3 separate regions of the Homo sapiens genome follow, and all the other regions are linked to region 2. The links are contacts of gene promoters, found by promoter capture Hi-C in human tissues and cell types (Jung and others, 2019). All regions are on one chromosome and are shown on one strand. Each heading gives the region's core, a stretch centred on a gene start or on the middle of the fragment in contact. The rest is flanking DNA. Distances are from core to core; before and after follow the strand shown. Region 1 holds the start of CELF5 (CUGBP Elav-like family member 5). Region 2 holds the start of TLE2 (TLE family member 2, transcriptional corepressor). Region 3 overlaps ZNF556 (zinc finger protein 556).

What was found. Contacts are between HindIII fragments. The study calls those that stand out against the background at their distance.
Region 1: a contact is called between the fragment with the promoter of CELF5 here and the fragment with the promoter of TLE2 in region 2, in 8 of the 25 tissues and cell types used here (IMR-90 fibroblasts, aorta, dorsolateral prefrontal cortex and 5 more).
Region 3: a contact is called between a fragment that was not itself captured here and the fragment with the promoter of TLE2 in region 2, in 2 of the 25 tissues and cell types used here (adrenal gland and dorsolateral prefrontal cortex).

The regions. Positions count from the first base shown.
Region 1 is chr19:3,222,080-3,226,157 of GRCh38, reverse strand. It overlaps CELF5 (CUGBP Elav-like family member 5), which reads right to left and starts at 1,497. Exons shown (of 13, transcript NM_021938.4): 1 at 1,160-1,497. The coding sequence starts at 1,418. RefSeq lists a silencer at 1,557-1,676. The HindIII fragment of the contact is 19,492 bases long and covers 1-4,078 here.
Region 2 is chr19:3,027,142-3,031,076 of GRCh38, reverse strand. It overlaps TLE2 (TLE family member 2, transcriptional corepressor), which reads left to right and starts at 1,797. Exons shown (of 20, transcript NM_003260.5): 1 at 1,797-2,196; 2 at 2,274-2,371; 3 at 2,695-2,758; 4 at 3,204-3,248. The coding sequence starts at 2,173. The HindIII fragment of the contact is 30,131 bases long and covers 1-3,935 here.
Region 3 is chr19:2,879,588-2,883,704 of GRCh38, reverse strand. ZNF556 (zinc finger protein 556) reads right to left here. Exons shown (of 4, transcript NM_024967.3): 4 at 260-4,117. Among named protein-coding and RNA genes, the nearest start is that of ZNF556, 14 kb to the right of the region's middle. The HindIII fragment of the contact is 5,975 bases long and covers 1-4,117 here.

The sequences.
Region 1 (4,078 bases), core at 248-2,747, 200 kb before region 2:
GGTCTTCCTGGAGGATGGGAGGGGGAGGGCCGGGGGTGTCCAGCACAAGGCCTTTGAAGTGGCACCCCCAGTCCCCAACACCTGACCGGAAGGCTGTCAAAGCCACCCCAATTCAGACGCTGGGCCCATGATGGGAACCAAGGGCTGGGGATACAATTGCCGGACACCCCCACCCGGGATGCCATCGGAGGGAGAATCCAGTGGGAGGGAGGCAGACAGGCCTGAGGCCGCCCACGCCTCCCTCCTCCTCCCTGTCCACCCCAGAATTTGGGCTCTGCCCAGATGGACACGTCCAAGCTCATTGTCTTGGGCCTGAGACCCCAACACATTGCTAAGAGGCTCGGCCAGTTTCAACTTGAGCCCAAGGTGGAGGCGGGGGAGGGGGAGGGCAGAGAAATGGAGGAGAGAATGCTGATCCACGCGGAGGTGGTGGGGCCAGGGGGTGGGCAGCGACGGGAGCCTCTCCGCCACCCGAGGCAGGCGAGGCGGGCGCGTCCCCCCGAGCCGGGCGCCCCCAACCCGTCTTCCTTTGTAGTTACCGATTAGCCTGGGGTCCTGGGCATCCGTGTCCCCCGCGGCCGGACCTGCCCCGCCGGCCTGGCTTTGTGAAAATAACCAAAGCAATGGAGTCCGCAGGTGCAAACTTCCCCGACGGGGCCTGGGGAGGCTGAATGAATGGGGGTGGGGGGGCAGGGAGGGGTGCCGGCGTTCCCGAGGCTCCCCTGGCAAACGGGCAGGAAAGAGTGGGGTGAGGGAGGGAGGAAGGGGTGGGGGTCTGGGGGATGGAAGGGTGAGGGAGGGAGGGAGGGAGAGAGAGGGTGCTGTGGGGGGAAGGATGAGAGGTCGAGGGAGATGGGAGAGAAGAGAAAGGGAGAGAGAGAGGGAGAGAGAGAGGGAGAGAGAGAGGAGATGCCGGAAGGTGGGGAGGGAGGGAGAGGGGGCGGAGGAGGGGAGGGGGCCCGCTCGGATCTGTCAGCTGCACCCCCAGAGAGGGGAGGAGGGGTGGGTGGGAGGGAGGGGGTAAGAACCGATGCTCCGGCAGAGGCAGGCAGAGGAGGGAGGTGAGCAGAGGAGGGATGGTGATGGGGGAGAGAAGATGCCGGAAGGTGGGGTGGGAGGCGGAGGGAGGGGGAGAGGGGGGAGGGGGCCGGGCGCCCACCTTTGTGCATCCCCGTGTAGGGGTCTTTGAGCACCGTGAGCTCGTAGATGCGGCCGAACTGCTCGAAGAGCGGCTTGAGGTCCTTCTCGTCCAGGTGCCGCGGGATCTGGCCCACGAAGAGTTTGATGGCGTCCAGGTCCTTCATGCCGTCGGGCTGCCCCCCGGGGGGCTCGGGCCCGCTGCTGCCCACGGGCGAGGGCCGCGGCTGCAGGAGCTGCTGCTGCTGCCGGCGCGCCTCGCTCTCCGTCAGGCGGGCCATGGCGGGCGCGGGACCGAGCCGGCGGCGGCGGCGGCGGGCGGCGGGCGGACTCGCAGCTGGAGCGGCGGCCGCGCCTCCCGCCTCCCTCCCGGGCCCCCGCGCCCTCCTCCCGCCCGCGCCCGCCCCGGCATCGGGACCACAAAGGCGGCTCCGCAGCGGCCCCTGGCGGCCGCGCCGCGCGGGGCAGCCGGCGCCTCCCCGCATCCCCGGGCCGCGGGGGGAAACTGAGGCCGGAAGGCCCCGGGCCCCGCCTACGGGTGGGCGAGGGCGGAGCTGCGGGCGGGACGGGCCTTAGCCGGCTTCCCAGGGGTCCCCGCCGGCTCCCGCGGAGGGCATCGGCCGGAAGAATGTCAAAAGTTGCTGGGATAATGTAGGGGGCTTGTCGTTGAAAGCGCCCGTGATCCTTAAAGTAGGTAACTCATCAATAATATTAATAACACTAATAATATGGCTGGGCGCGGTGGCTCACGCCTGTCATCTCAGCACTTTGGGAGGCCGAGGTGGGTGGATCACTTGAGGTCAGGAGTTCGAGACCAGACTGGCTAACACGGTGAAACCCCGTCTCTACTAAAGAATACAAAAATTAGCTGGGCTCGGTGGCGGGGGGTGCCTGTAATCCCAGCTACTCGGGAGGCTGAGGCAGGATAATCACTTGAACCCAGGAGGCGGAGGTTGCAGTGAGCCAAGATTGTGCCATTGTACTCCAGCCTGGGCAACAAGAGCAAAACTCCGTCTTGGTAAAAAAAAAAAAAAAAAACACCTAATAATAACAACACTAATAATAATTAATCAAGAGCAAGACAAAGTGCTCCCACTAATCACGACAGCACAGGAGAAATGGTAAAAGTATCTTCCAGTTCTATAGGGTGCTTACACATAGAAAGTGTCCTTGGCCCTTTAAGTATGTAACTCATCAATAATGTCATCAACAAGGAGGGAGACTGGCTCGCACTGATAATGACAGGATAGGAGAAATACTGAAGTATCTCCCAGCTCTAAAGTGCCCGTGATCCTTTACGTATGAAACTCATCAATAATATTAATAAAAATAATAATACGTGCTGGCCGTGGTGGCTCACACCTGTAATCCCAGCACTTTGAGAAGCAGAGTCAGGAGGACCACTTGAGCCCAGGAGTTGGAGACCAGCCTGAGCAACATAGTGAGACGCCATTGCTGTAAAAAATAAGAAAACAGGCCAGGCACGATGGCTCACACCTGTAATCCCAGCACTTTGGGAGGCTGAGGCAGGTGGATCACCTGAGATCAGGAGTTCGAGACCAGCCTGATCAACATGGAGAAAACTCTGTCTCTACTAAAAACACAAAAATTAGCCAGGCATGGTTGTGCATGCCTGTAATCCCAGCTACTCAGGAGGCTGAGGCAGGAAAATCGCTTGAACCCGGGAGGCGGAGATTGCAGTGAGCCGAGATTGCGCCATTGCACTCCAGCCTGGGCAACAAGAGTGAAACTCTGTTTGAGAAAAAAAAAAAAAAAAATCAGCCAGGAGTGGTTGGTGTGCACCGTTGGTCCCAGCTACTCGGAGGCTGCGGTGGGAGCATCGGTTGATCCCTGGGATATTAAAGCTGCAGTGAACCAGGATCGCACCACTGCCTCTGGTCTAGGCGACAGAATGAAATCTTGTCTCAAAAAAAAAAAAAAAAAAAACACTTCCCAAAGATGTCCCATAATTAAAGCCCAAGTCCTTCTTGAGGCCCACAAGGCTCTGCGTGTCCTGTTCTGCCTTGTCCCCACCTTCCCCTGCTCCCTCTCTCCCCCTCCTCACTGCTGCAGCTACACAGGCCTCCTCGCTGTTCCTCTCACTTGTCAGGTGCGGTCCTGCCTCAGGGCCTTTGCACGGGCTGTACCCTTTGTCTGGGATGTGCTCTCCCCAGATGATGTGTGGCTCATTCCTTAATTCCCCATCACTTTCCCCATCTACCTTATCTAAAACCGCTCAGTCACCATTATCTCCTTTCTCAGCCTTCTTTTTCCCTCCACAGAGTTACACCCATTTAAAATTTTATTTTCATTTTTATTTTTATTTTTTTCGAGATGGAGTCTCTCTCTGTCGCCCAGGCTGAAGTGCAATGGTGTGATCTTGGCTTACTGCAACCTCCACCTACCAGGTTCAAATGATTCTCCTGCCTCAGCCACCTGAGTAGCTGGGATTACAGTTGCACCCCACCACACCCAAATAGTGTAAAATTTTATTAACGTACTTATTTATTTATTTATTTATTATTGAGACAGAGTCTCGCTGTGTCACCCAGGCTGGAGTGCAGTGGCATTATCTCGGCTCACTGCAACCTCTGCCTCCCGGGTTCAAGCAATTCTCCTGTCTCAGTCTCCAGTGTAGCTGGGATTACAGGCATGTGCCACCACACCTGGCTAATTTTTGTATTTTTAGTAGAGATGGGTTTCACCATGTTGGCCAGGCTGGTGTCGAACTCCTGACCTTAGGTGATCTGCCCACCTCAGCCTCCCAAAGTGCTGGGATTACAGGCATGAGCTACTGCGCCCAGCCTAAAATTTAATTTTTAATTCTTATTTTATTTATTTTTTGAGACAGGCTCTTGCTGTCGCCCAGGCTGGAGTGCAGTGGTGCAATCTCGGCTCACTGCAACTTCCACCTCCTGGGTTCAAGTGATTCTCATGCCTC
Region 2 (3,935 bases), core at 548-3,047:
CCCTTATCCACCCTTACAATCCCTGTGCCTGGAAGGATGCCTGACACGTCATAGGTGCTCTGTAAATATCTGTGGGCTGGAAAACGATGGCTTTAAATTTGATAAGGGCTTTTTTTTTTTTTTTTTGAGACAAGGTCCTGCTCTGTCACCCAGGCTGGAGTGCAGTGATGTGATCTCAACTCAGTGCAGCCTTGACCTTCTGGGGCTCAGGTATCTCCCGCCTCAGCCCCCCAAGTAGCCGGGACCACAGGTGTGCATCACCATGCCTGGCTAATTATTTTTGTATTTTTTGTAGAGATACAAAAAACACAAAAATGTTTTTTTGTATTGTCGCGGTGTTGTCCACACTGGTCTTGAACTCCTGGGCTCAAGCGATCCTCCCTCCTCAGCTTCCCAAAGTGCTGGAGCTACAGGCATGACCCACCACCCCTGGCCCATTGATAAGGGCTCTTGTGCCCTTTTGTAAGGGTACAAAATGGGTTTTTGTAACCCTAACCCTTAGGTACCATTAGGTACTCGATCACCTAAGGACACAAGTCCAAGTGTCATCAAGGGGCATGGATTTTTCTCTGTTTTGTTCCCAGCTGTGCCCCAGTGTCTACAGCAGTGTGTGGTCCACAGTATGCATTTAGTACACGTTTGTTGATTGACTTCACAAACCTCTCCTGAGGTTTCTCCAAAGAGAATAAGAACTTCCCACTCCCCGGGTGGGCCTGAAGGATGCTGGCTGGATGTCTGTGGTCTCTGGTCGGGGCTGGAGCCTTTGCCGTGGGAGAGACTTGAGTCTGATGGCAGAGCTGTGGTTCTTCCAGTTCTGAGTGGGACACGGCTCCTGCCTTCAAGAAACCCAGTCTGAGAGGGGAGACAGCCCAGTCCACTGGTGATGGCAGTAGGAACACAATTCCCATCTGTGGAAGTTTGCTCTGTGTAGGGAGAGGCTGACAGCGTTCATGCACTATCTCATTTAAGTGCAGTGCCCAGTGCGGTGGCTCCCGCCCGTAATCCCAGCACTTTGGAAGGCCGAAGAGAGAGGCTTGAGTCCAGGAGTTCAAGACCAGCCTGGGCAACATAGTGAGACGCCCCCCTACTCCATCTCTGCAAAAAATTAAAAAATTAGCTGGGCGTGGTGGTGCACACCTGTAGTCCCAGCTACTGGAGAAGCTGAGGGGGAAGGATCGCTTGAGCCCAGGAGTTCGAGGCTGCAGTGAGCCATGATTGCCCCACTGTACTCCAGCCTGGGCAACACAGGGAGACCCTATCTCTGCAAAAAATTAAACCCTAAAGATAGCGCACCACCCCTGACCTTTTGCAGAGACTACTGAGGCCCCCAGAGGGCGAGGGCCCGGCATGATCTGGGAAGCAGTGTTTGCTGTGAGATTCCCTTTCTGGCAGGGTTCCCTGCCAGCGCTTGGCAAGGCTGCGTCCTGCTGACCCTTCAATCTCAACCCAATGTCACTTGCTCAGAAAAGCCATTTCCGACTCCAGACTGGTCCCCGCTCCCCGCAAGCCCCCCCCCCCGCTCCCACGGTGGGTAACACGGTGTGAATTTCTTCACTGGTTTTTCTTCTCCCGCCCCTCCGGGAGGGGGTGGGGACCCTGTTTTAAGGCACTGGGCGCCTCCCCACCCGGCCTCAGTTTCCCCAACGGCCCAGGGACTGAAGGAAGGGGGCGGGTGCCCGGGGGCCGGGGGGGGCGCGGGCGCGGGGAGGGGCGGTGCGCGGGGGTGGGCGCGGGGCGGGCCGCGGGCGCGTGGGGGCGGCGGCGCCACCTTAAGGCGGCTCAGCCCGCGGCTCCCGGCCGAGCCCCGCCGGAGGGAGGCGGCTCCGCGCGGGGCCCGCCGCCCGCGCCGCCGCCACCGAAACCCGGCCGCGGCGCGCCCGACCTTCTGCGCCGGCTGCCGCGGCCGCCCTCGCCGCGCTCCCGCCCCGGCCGCTGCCCCTGCCCGCCCCGCTCGCCCCGCGCACCCCAACCCGGGGAGGGGCTCCCACGACCCCGGGCGCGCGCGCTTGGGGGCGCGCCAGGGACTCCAGGGTCCCTTGCCCCGCGCCGCTTCTCCCTCCTCCCTCTTTCTTCGGGCAGCCTCCCCACCACCCCACTTCAGCCTCCCCCACTCTTGCCGCCTCCATATCATCAAGCTCTGGTGGCGCCTGGGGGGCTTTTCGGATCGGCAGGATGTACCCCCAGGGAAGGCACCCGGTGAGTGCGGACTGCGGGGAGGGGGCCCCCAGTGTCCGGGAACTCAGACCCTGACGTTTCCCCCACACCCCCCCCAGACCCCGCTCCAGTCCGGCCAGCCCTTCAAGTTCTCGATCTTGGAGATCTGCGACCGCATCAAAGAAGAATTCCAGTTTCTTCAGGCTCAATACCACAGGTGAGGGGGGCCGCCCCAGGGGCCGCGGGAGTTCACCTGGGCGCCGGGGCGGGGCGAGGCCTCCGGGGTATAGGGCGGGGAGGAGGGGCTCCCGGTTGGAGGGGGGGCGCGACAAAGGCCTCCAGGTGGAAGCGCAGGTGCAGAGGGGTCTGGGGACAGTCAGAGCTGGGGCATTTGGAGCCCAGGAAGGGGCGGGGAGGGACTGGGACAGGAGGTGGGGGGAGGTCTGTAAGGAAGTCGGGAGGGGGAGATCCAGCCTCTCACTTTGGAAGCCGGCCCACATGGGGCGGGTGGGAGCCCCTTGCCCTCTCTCTTCTTCTCAGCCTCAAGCTAGAATGTGAGAAGCTGGCCAGCGAGAAGACGGAAATGCAGCGACATTATGTCATGGTGAGGGCACTTATGATGCCAGGGTGAGGGGAGAGGCGGGCAGGGCTTTGAGTCACGGTGGACTCTGGGGTAGGTCCCTGCCCCACTCCGAACCTCGTCTTCCCCGTCTGTACATTGGGCAGGTTGGGATTTCAGGCTCTCTAGGAGGGTCCTCCCAGCTCTGGGAATGGGGAGACAGGGAGGACCCCTCGCCTGATGGGAGTCTCTGTCGGGCCAGGGCCTCTGGACACTTCCTACCTGCCCTGCCTCTCTGGGGAGAGTAGAGGGGGCCCTTCCAGGCAGAGCCCCCGCTTCCTCCTCTGGGACCCCGTGGAGCTGGGGGGGGCTCTGCTTCCTGCTGTGATTCCCCTGAACCTGGGGACTCTTGGAAGACCCTGGCATCACCTATCTGGAGGAGGGCACCCATCTCCACCCTAGACGTTCTTACTTGGTTTTTCCTTTGCAGTATTATGAGATGTCGTACGGGCTCAACATTGAAATGCATAAGCAGGTAACTGGGTTGGGGTTACGCGTGTTCAGGAGGGAGGGTGGGGGTCTGGAAGCCCTGAGAAGGACCCAGAGTGGGCAGCCGGGGCCAGAGCAGACCTAGGGAACACGGGTCTCATCCTGAAATCTCCGCAGAGGTCACAGAGGGCCCATCTGGGACCAGGAAGACAGATTTCAGCCTCGTGGAAGGAAAATGAGTCCCACCTTCTGAAGACAGTATCTAGCAGTTGGAGCGTCCAGCAGAGATGCAGGCAGTGGGCAGGGGCCACCAGGCATCCCCATCAAGGAGGGCACATAGCAGAGGCAGGGCAGCCAGGCCAGGGAGGCTGTGGAAGTGACTTCTGTCCTAGGAGGGAGCTGGATGGCCACTCTTAGAGGTCCCTTTCAACCCAGAAAGTCTGAAGTTTTGAGATGGACCCCAGGTTCTGTTGCTGCTTTGAAGCTTCTGAGATTGGTCTCAGTGTGATTGGCTGGAAGGTTCCAAGATTGTTCTCCAGGCCCTGAATTTGATGCCATGGTTCAGACTGTGACCCCACTACTCCAAAATAGACCTCAAAACTCTGTGGCTGTCTTCAGGGCTTTGAGATTGACTCCAGTGTCGTAAGGCTCTGAGCCTCTTCTGGAGCTTCTCAGTGTGATCCAAGGTTCTGAGACAGACTTCAGGGTTCTGAAATAGACCTCAGGGTTCTGA
Region 3 (4,117 bases), core at 358-2,857, 150 kb after region 2:
AACCTCCGCCTCCCGGGTTCAAGCAATTCTCCTGCCTCAACCTCCCAAGTAGCTGGGATTACAGGCACGCACCACCATGCCCAGCTAATTTTTGTATTTTTAGTAGAGACAGCGTTTCTCCATGTTGGTCAGGCTGGTCTCGAACTCCCGACCTCCGGTGATCTGCCCACCTCAGCCTCCCAAAGTGCTGGGATTACAGGCGTGAGCCACTGCGCCCGGCCCGCTATCAAGACTATTAACATTGAAAATGGACACAGACTGGATTTCATTTGCCTTTAATTAAACACAAAGCTGTTACATATTTTTCTCTTCTAATAGCTGCTGGAAGTCTAAGCATATGGAAACGATACCTATGAAAATCAAATGGACATTTTGGGCTTTGTGGATCATTAAAGGTTTACACTTAAAAATTATTTTTTAATTAAAAAAATAAAAATTAATTAAAGGATGACAAATACATTGGGATGTTACTCAAAATGATAATCCTGTCTGCAGCTCACTTCAGTTATTCCTTGACTAGTTCTCTCACCGTCCATAGATTTTATCCTCACCAGGAAATCATGGCACACTTGCCTAGATATCACTGTGCACATGGGAAAACACTCGCAACGGGCTACAACTGTGCAGATGACCATAACTCTTCCTCACCCTGTGAGGAACTCTAGTTTTCTGCAGAACACAATTTTTCCATCAGTGTGTAGGGGCAGCAAAGTGACAATGCCAAATATATAAGGCAATTTAAAATTATTTCACAAAGGTATTAAAAACAAACACCCACATTGTGGTTCAAATCCAGATGAAGTACCTGGTCCCAGATGCCAATGTCCAAACTCATAAAAACATATGACATGGGCCTGGTGCGGTGGCTCACGCCTGTAATCCCAGCTCTGCGGGAGGCCAAGGCGGGCAGATCACGAGGTGAAGAGATCGAGACCATCCTGGCCAACAAGGTGAAACCCCACCTGTACTAAAAATACAAAAAATTAGCTGGGCGTGGCGGGGCACGCCTGTATTCCCAGCCACTTGGGAGGGTGAGGCAGGAGAATCGCTTGAACCTGGGAGGTGGAGGTTGCAGTGAGCTGAGATCGCACCACTGCACTCCAGCCTGGCAACAGAGCAAAACTCCGTCACACACATTCACACACACACACACACACACACACACACACACACTATATATATATATATATAAAATGTATACATCATGCCCTAAAATTTTTAATATTTGCAGAAATGAGGCTGAACCATAAATATACCTTTTGTCTCTTTTTTTTTTTGAGACAGAGTCCCACTCAGTCGCCCAGGCTGGAGTGTAGTGGTTCGATCTCTGCTCACTGCAAGTTCCGCCTCCTGGGTTCACGCCATTCTCCTGCCTCAGCCTCCCGAGTAGCTGGGACTACAGGCACCTGCCACCACGCCCAGCTAATTTTTTGTATTTTTTACTAGAGACAGGGTTTCACCGGGTTAGCCAGGATGGTCTTGATCTCCTGACCTCGTGATCCACCCGCCTCAGCCTCCCAAAGTGCTGGGATTACAGGCGTGAGCCACCGCGCCCGGCCAGGGAAATAATTATTGTTTCTTTTTTTCTTTTTAATTTGACACACGGTCTCATTCTGTCACCCTGGCTGGAGTACAGTGGCAAGATAACTCATTGCAGCCTGGACCTCTTGGTCTCAAGCCATCCTCCACCCTCAGCCTCCTGAGTAGCTGGCTCTACAAGTGCACATCACCATGCCTAGATACTTTTAAAAATTTCTTTTTATAGAGACTGTGTCTCACTATGTGCCCAGACTGGCCTTGAACTCCTGTGCTCAAGTGATCCTCCTGCCTCAGCCTCCCGAAGCTTTGGAATTACAAGTGTGAGCCACTGCCCCTGGTCCTGCCGTTATTTCTGTATTACTGCTCACTATTTCCTAACTCATGAGCAGTTCTTGAAATAGTATTAAAAAAAAAGAAATAGTATTTAAGACATATTACATGGTGGAACTATAAATGAATTCATGATGAGATTGTCACTTACTGAAGCCCGATCCTTTATTCTGCATTCCCTATTATCTACCTTGTCAAGTTTGATACTATACTTTATTCTGCCTTGATATTATCCAAAAAAAAAATTTTTTTTTTTTTGAGATGGAGTCTTACTCTTGTCGCCCAGGCTGGAGTGCAGTGGCGCAATCTTGGCTCACTGCAACCTCTGCCTCCCGGGTTCAAGCGATTCTCCTGCCTCAGCCTCCCAAGTAGCTGGGATTACAGGCGCCTGCCACCACGCCTGGCCAATTTTTTGTATTTTTAGTAGAGACAAGGTTTCACCATGTTCACCATGTTGGCCAGCGTGGTCTCGAACTCCTCACATCAGGTGATCCACCCGCCTCGGTGGGTCCTGGGATTACAGGCGTGAGCCATTGCTACTGGGCTCCAATAAAGTTTAAACTTGTTTTATTAGTTATCTTTTTATGTCTTTTGCTAGACTTATTTAATACTTAAATTTATAAAACCGTTACGTAAGTTTTTGTCATTATGAATAAACAAGAATTTATTAGGCTGGGCGCGGTGGCTCACGCCTGTAACCCCAGCACTTTGGGAGGCCGAGGTGGGCAGATCACAAGGTCAGGAGATCGAGACCAGCCTGGCCAGCATAGTGAAACCCCGTCTCTACTAAAAATACAAAAATTAGCCGGGTGTGGTGGCGGGTGCCTGTAATCCCAGCTCTTCAGGAGGCTGAGGTAGGAGAATCACTTGAACCTTGGCGGGGGGGTTGCAGTGAGCCAAGATCACGGCACTGCACTCCAGCCTGGGTAACAGAGCGAGAATCTGTCTCAAAAAAAAAAAAAAGAATTTCTTAGACAAAATTATAACAGTATAGGAAACAAATGTACTAGAAAGAAAATGTCTAAATCTGAATGCATCTGGTAATATTAATTCAGAAGTATAATTCTTTTTTTTGAGACGGAGTCTCGCTCTGTCACCCAGGCTGGAGTGCAGTGTCGCAATCTTGGCAAGCTCCGCCTCCCAGGTTCAAGCCATTCTCCTTCCTCAGCCTCCCGAGTAGCTGGGACTACAGGCACCTACCAGCACACCCCACTAATATTTTGTATTTTTAGTAGAGATGGGGTTTCACCGTGTTAGCCAGGATGGTCTCGATCTCTTGACCTCATGATCTGCCCGCCTTGGCCTCCCCAAAGTGCTGGGATTACAGGCGTGAGCCACTGTGCCTGGCCCAGAAGTATCATTTTTAAAGTCACCATGTTGATTTGGCAATTTTCAATATTTTAATACATTCTCCCAGTAAATAAAAAACAGAGATTGACATTTGTTAGTATACAACTTATTTGAAAAACTCAGTTAAATAGGCTATTTCTAAGAAACATTTTATCCATTTGTATAGAATCCAACTTCTTTAAAAACACAAACACAGTAAATAGATATTTCTCAGAAACAGAAACTTTTGTTTTAATAATACATAATCAAACATAATAACTGAACACATACTGAGAGATTGTATTCAGCTCTATGTGACAGGAAATTTCCAGAGTTTACCTGATAAGCCAGTATTGTCTTTCATTTTCTCATGAAAGGTAAGATTTATCTCACGAAGAATACTAGGTCACAGTAGATGCAGTAGGGAAACAATCCCCTGTGCTTTTTTAAAAAATTATTCTTTATTTATTTATTTTTGAGACAGAGTCTCGCTCTTTCGCCCAGGCTGGAGTACAGTGGCACGATTCCAGCTCACTGCAAGCTTCGCCTCCCAGGTTCACGCCATCCTCCTGCCTCAGCCTCCCGAGTAGCTGGGACTACAGGCGCCCGCCACCACACCTGGCTAATTTTTTGTATTTTTAGTAGAGACGGGGTTTCACCATGATAGCCAGGATGGTCTCGATTTCCTGACCTCGTGATCCGCCCACCTCAGCCTCCCAAAGTGCTGGGATTACAGGCGTGAGTCACCGCGCCCAGCCGCAATCCCCTGTGTTTTTATGGTTGTACCATTGTATCTGTCATGGAAGCAGGAACACAGAAGCACAAGAAATACTGAGACAATGAGGTATTAAGATAATGATAATATGGCCAGGCATAGTGGCTCACACCTGTAATCCCAGCACTTTGGGAGGCCAAGGCG